Regions from separate parts of the Homo sapiens genome. Here region 2 is linked to region 1. Evidence: promoter capture Hi-C in human tissues and cell types (Jung and others, 2019). All regions are on one chromosome and are shown on one strand. The core of a region is centred on a gene start or on the middle of the fragment in contact, and the rest is flanking DNA. Distances in the headings are between cores, read along the strand shown. Region 1 holds the start of RBPMS2 (RNA binding protein, mRNA processing factor 2). Region 2 overlaps CSNK1G1 (casein kinase 1 gamma 1).

Region 1 (3,068 bases), core at 208-2,707:
CAGCACAAGGGGAGGAGGCAACACCAGTCCACACCAGGGGCTCTGCGGTTTCTCCCCCAGGCCAAGGGGAAGGGCGCCCAAGGTGGATAACCAGCCCTTGGTTTCCTGGGCGAGAACATGCCAGGGCAGGGGCAGGAAGGCTCTCTCACCCCTAGAATGACGCAGCAGAGGCCAGAGGCCCTGCGAAGCCTGTCCCCTTCTACTCCAGTTCTTGTCTCCGCCAGCCTAGCTCCTCGTCCCTATTCACTGATATCTTTGAGGCTTTTATCCAGCACCCCACCCCGCACACACATCCTCCCTACCATCCATTAACCACCCAGCTGCTGGTGGTTCCACGGAGCCGCCTTACACTCCCTCCCTTTCGCACATGGCCGGTGGACGAGATGATTTCGCCCCTCCTGGCAGGATCCCACCCAGGCCAGCTTTGGGGTCCTGGCTTGGTTGCCAGGACAAACCCAGAGAGAGGAGAAGGACGAACTGAGTGTCTTTAGTCATCTTCCAAACTAATTAAATTGTGGGCTCACCTCTGCCAAAGCCCAGGTTCTGGGGCTGTGAAGAAAGCCCGCCCACCCCCATGACAACAGCTCGCAGGAACCGAGGAGCCGGCCGGCCCAGGCCTCCAAGGTCACGGGGAGGGGGTCAGGGCGGAAAAGGCAGTGGAGTGAGGGTGCCGCCCTCGGGCCGTGCTAATCCCGCTCCGCTCCGTGCCGCCGAGGCGGGGTCCTGGCCACGCAGGAGGTGCGCCTCGGAGGAGGGCGGCGAGCGGCTACGGGGTGGGGAGCAAGGGGCGCGCGGGCGGCAGGCATGGAACGGACGCGGCGCATCTCGCCCACCGCGGGACGCCCGGACGGCGGCCGGCGCGCGCGGCCCGCCTCGAGCCCGAGAGGGCGGGGAGACAATGCCTGTCCGGCGGGGCAGTCCAGGCCGCACGCTCCCGCCCGCGGACACGGGCCGCTCCTACCCGGGCGAGAGGGCAGCGGCGGGAAGGCGCCGGGAGCGATGGCCACCCCGGCCCCGCGAGGCGCGGCAGGCCCCGCTCGCCCTCTCCCGCGCCCGCCTGGCGTGCGCTTCACCCGGCAAGTCCCGGGGCCACAGACCCACCTCCTCCTCCAGGGCGCCGCCGGAGCCCGCGCCGGAGCCGGTGCCGGTGCTGCCGCCGTGCTCGCCGTCCGGCTTCAGGTTGCTCATGGTGCGGGGGAGGGGGCGGCGGGAAGGAACGCGAGGGCGAGCGCGGCGCCGGCCCCGCGGGAAGTGGGAAGGGGCGCGGGGAGCGGTGCGCTCGCGGGTGCGGAGCGGGTGGCGGGGGACCCACGGGGCAGTGAGAGGGGCAGCCTCCGCGTCGGGCCAGGGTCACATCAAGTTTGGCGGGTGCGGAAGGTGGGGAGGGGGTGCGGCGGGGGAGGCAGTGGGAGCCGGAGGGGCCGCCGCCTCCGCCTTTTCACTGCGACCGGCGAGTGCGCCGCGGCGGCGGCGGCGGCGGCAGCGGCGGCGGGGGGCGGGCGCCGGGGGAGGGGGCGGGCGCCGGCGGCGGGGGGCGGGGCCGGAACCGGCCTCAGCTGGGGCCCGGCCAGCCCCCTCCCCCGCCCGCCGCGCGGTCTCCGGGGGAACGCGCAGCCAATCCCCACCGCCCACCGTGGGCTCGCCCCGGCCCCGGCCGCGGGGCGCCGGCCTCCGGCCGGGCCTTTCCCCTCTCTCTCGCCTGGGTCAGCGCTCTCCCTCTCTCCTCTTCCCCCGCGCCCTTCTCCACGGCGAGTTTTTAAACTTTGATGAACTCGCCCGGCGAACTTTCTTAAAGGGGCCGCGCGCTGCGCGCCCCAGCCCGCGGGAGGTGGAGCCCCGTGCCCCGCACCCAGCGCCCCGGTCCCTGGGCGGCCCTGCCCGGGCGGCCTCGCGCTTAGGGCACCCGCAGCGAGGTTTCCGGGCCGTCGACTCCCCTTGTATCTTGATCTAGGGTTTTGGGGTTCCCGACGCACTCATTCTGCCCCTAAATCCAGTCGCGCAGACCTCAGCTCCGGGGGACCGAGTTCTGGGGGTGATGGCCGGGGGGAGGGGGTTGGGAGACACCTGAGCTTTGGCCCGGGCTGGGCGCTGTTTTGCTGAGTGACCTTGAGGAAATCACTTCCCCTCTCTGGCCTCAGGCTCCCAGCCCAGAGGGTGGGACTTAGGATCTCAAACTCCCTTCCCACTCCCAGTCACTATCTGAATAGGACTTAGGTGGGGATTCGAGTGTTGGGACCCCAATGGTCATTAGCGAGGGCTGCCTCGAATGACCAAGAAGGTTCTGTTGCCCACCTTGCCCTCAACACGCCTGGCTTTCGGGTCTTCTCGCTCCTCCCCCGACCTCAGTGCCCCTCACACCTTTCCCTGCCTCCTATTCTGAGCCCGAAGGCTGGGGACGGATGTAATAGCCTAGAGGCTGGGGGAGGTGGGGGAGGTCGTCGTGACTCCCCCCGCACCCCCGCGCAGGTCAGTAGGGCGCGGCCTCTGGGTCGGTTTTCTCTTCTATTTGAAAACCCAGCCGATGGGGGCCCGCCCTGCTGCCACAGTAGAAACCCGCACCCACCTCGGGGAGCGCTGGAAGCGCTGCAGCCTGAATCCGGCAGAGCCGCGGGAGAACTGGGTCCCTCCTCAGTGCCCCTTCTCCTGGACGGGGCGGAGGTTGCGGTGACCCGAGATCTTGCCATTGCACTCCAGCCAGGGCAACAAGAGCGAAACTCCGTCTCAAAAAAAGAAAAGAAAAAAGAAAAGCTGGATTTGCAGTCACGGACTGGTTAGGATCCCAGACCGTGGACAAGTGCCTGAGCCCCCAGAACCTCTGTGTGTCGACCTCCTGAATTAGGTAGGACTAGCACCACAGGATCACTGTGCTGTGGCTTAGTCTTCCCAGTAAATTATAATCTCCATCCTGACCTGCCATCTCACAGATAAATTGAGGCCTAGAGATGGGCAATGTCTTTCCAATGATATACTCATTCCTTTAGTAAATAATTATTGAGCACCTACTGTGGGCTGGGGACCATTTTCTGCTGGTGGCAAGGCCAAGAGCACCCTGGTTTCCCATCAGCCCT
Region 2 (3,068 bases), core at 285-2,784, 550 kb before region 1:
AGACAAGAGGATCACTTGAGCTTCAGAGGCAGCAGTTGGCAGTAAGCTGAGATCATACCGCTGTACACCAGCCTGGGCGACAGAGTGAGACTCTGTCTCAAAAAAAAAAAAAAAAAAAAGAAAAAGAAAAATACTACAGAGTGGATATTTTTTCTTATCAACATATAGACCTACCTTATTCATTTTAATAGCTACATATTAATAGTAGTATAATAGTATTCCACCATGTAACATATCTGTTTAACTTTCCCCCTACTGATGGGCATTCATGCTGTTTCCATGTGTTAATTAGAAATATATATTATAGTGAACACCTATTGCTTTTGCCTGGTCTGCATCCTTTTGTTCCTTCTGATAACACCACCTTATTCTTACAGTGGAAAGTACCATTTCCCCAGTGTTACTTCATGTGGTTAAAGTGGGGGCAACCCATCTCCCACTGACATCCCGAGGATGCCACAAGCCCAATTACTCAGAATACTCTATCTGCCTGCCTGGGAAAACTGGCTCAGGAATGGGTGCCATGTCTCTCATGTAACAAGAGTCAACTCTAGGACTTTTGTGGAACTATAGAGAAGGAGGAGTATTCTCTCTCTTTCTCTCTCTCTTTCTCTCTCTCTCTCTCTCTCTCTCCCTGATCGCTAAACTGAAAGCAGCTCAGCCTGGAGTTGCCAGGGACCACCACATGGAGAAAGCCTATTTGAGAATGAAGCTAATGCAGAGAAAGAAGAGGTGAGAAAAAAAGAGAGGCAAATGTATCACATACCTATGGACCAAGGACATTATTAGTCCTGTATCTGGATGGCTTGAAGTGAGAATGCTTTTGACTTCTCAGTTCTGTGAGCCAAGAAATTCTCCTCTCCCTCTCTCAAGTGAGCTTGAACTGGGATTCTACTCTTGGCAAATAAAAGCATCTAGACAAATAGGCATGCAATACTACAAAAAAAAATCCTTAAGCCTATATTTTTGGGCATGTTTGTAAATTTTTTTTTTTTTTTTTTTTTTTTTTTTTTTTTTTTTAAGACAGAATCTCACTCTGTCGCCCAGGCTGGAGGGCAGTGGCGCGACCTCGGCTCACTGTAACTTCCACCTCCCGGGTTCAAGGGATTCTCCTGTCTCAGCCTCTGGAGTAGCTGGGATTACAAGCATGCGCCACCGTGCCCGGCTAATTTTTATATTTTTAGTAGAGACAGGGTTTTACCATGTTGGCCAGGCAGATCACCTGACGCGCTGGGCCTCCCAAAGTGCTTGGATTATAGGCGTGAGCCACCATGCCCTGCCCGGTAAACATATCTTGAATGTTAATTCCTTAAACAGGAAATGCTGAGTCAAATGCTTGCATAGTTAATATTTTAGTATATAGTGCCAAATTGCCAGTTTTGGTTTTTTTTTTTTAAGTCAGGGTCTCACTCTATCACCCAGGCTATAGTGCAGTGGCACAAACCATGGCTCACTGCAGCCTTGACTTCCCAGGCTCAAGCAATATTCCCACCTCAGCCTCCCGAGTGGCTGGGACTTACAGACGTGTGACACCACGCCTGGCTAATTTTTAATTTTTTGTTGAGACAGGGTCCCACTAGGTTGCCCAGGTTGGTCCTGAAGTCCTGGGCTCGAGCAGTTCTCCCACCTCATCCTTCCCAAACTGCCAGAGTTCTAAATCTTCTTTGGTCCCTATTCTGACTCTAGGCTTGGGCCTATTTTCAACATTTAGCACGACAGTCCCCATTACTTGAGTACTCAGGTCTGTGAGGGTATTTAAAAATAAAATGGCAGCCGGGTGCAGTGGCTCACGCCTGTAATCCCACCACTTTGGGAGGCCAAGGTGGGTGGATCACTAGGTCAGAAGATTGAGACCATCCTGGCTAACACGGTGAAACCCCGTCTCTACTAAAAAATACAAAAAAATTAGCCAGGCGTGGTGGTGGGTGACTGTAGTCCCAACTACTCAGGAGGCTGAGGCAGGAGAATGGCATGAACCCAGGAGGCAGAGGTTGCAGTGAGCCGAGATTGTGCCACTGCACTCCAGCCTGGGTGACAGAGCGAGAATCCGTCTCAAAAAAATAAATAAATAAATAATAAAATAAAATAAAATTGCAGGTTATATTCCTTTTAGAACATTAATTAAGCCTGGGCATGGTGGCTCACACCTGTAATCTCAGCACTTTGGGAGGCTGAGGCAGGAGGATTGCTTGAGGCCAAAAGTTCGAGACTAGCCTGGGCAACATAGGGAGACCCCATGTTTACAAAAAATAAAAAAATTAGTTGAGCGTGTGATGTATGCCTGTGGTCCCAGCTACTCAGGAAGCTGGGGTAGGAGAATCTCTTGAGCCCAGGAGGTTGAGGCTGCAGTGAGCTGTGATGACACCACTGCACTTCAGCCTAGGTGACAGAGCAAAACCTCATCTCCAAATATATATATATTATATATATATTTATATTTTATATTTATATAAACATATATATATTTGGAGATGAGGTCTTGCTCATATATGTATATGTATATATATATTAGGATATATATATATATACACACACACATATACATATATATATTAGGTGCTGTGCCTATCTTGTTCACTACTGTATCCCTAAGACTTAGCTTAGAATAGTACTTAACCCAAGTGGGATGCTCAAGAATATCTCTTTAATAAATGCATGAACAGAGACATAGCAGCCTCTGGGACTTGGTTTATTTTTTGTACTTGGAAAGCTTTCCTTACTCTTCCATTTTTATATGTTCAAATAAATCATAGTCGTTTTTTAAAGCTCAGCCCCATACATGCCACTCTCTCTATAAAACCTTTTCTCTTTCTCAAAATTAGAAACCATTTTTTCTTTCAGAACTTCCTCATTTTATATGCATTTTAAAAATATATATAACATTCTACTGTTTTAGCTTGTGTTACAGTTACTTACCATTATTGTCCTACCATTAACCTCACTGTCCTAACATGAACATACTGTAAGCTCAGTAAATATTACATTTTCCTTCCAATGACACTCTAGTGTACTGAAGGGCAGAGATCATCTTATTTATAATTCTTTGGCCCTCAAATTACCCAGCATAG

Evidence for each region. The method cuts DNA at HindIII sites, captures the fragments that hold promoters and counts their contacts. A contact is called where the count stands out against the background at its distance.
Region 2: a fragment that was not itself captured here is called in contact with the fragment with the promoter of RBPMS2 in region 1 in 2 of the 25 tissues and cell types used here (spleen and thymus).

The regions. Positions count from the first base shown.
Region 1 is chr15:64,774,132-64,777,199 of GRCh38, forward strand. It overlaps RBPMS2 (RNA binding protein, mRNA processing factor 2), which reads right to left and starts at 1,458. Exons shown (of 8, transcript NM_194272.3): 1 at 1,102-1,458. The coding sequence starts at 1,188. RefSeq lists enhancers at 1,319-2,165, 2,166-3,011 and a silencer at 1,634-1,883. The HindIII fragment of the contact is 13,175 bases long and covers 1-3,068 here.
Region 2 is chr15:64,228,920-64,231,987 of GRCh38, forward strand. The region is part of intron 4 of CSNK1G1 (casein kinase 1 gamma 1); the gene reads right to left. Among named protein-coding and RNA genes, the nearest start is that of PPIB, 67 kb to the left of the region's middle. The HindIII fragment of the contact is 8,680 bases long and covers 1-3,068 here.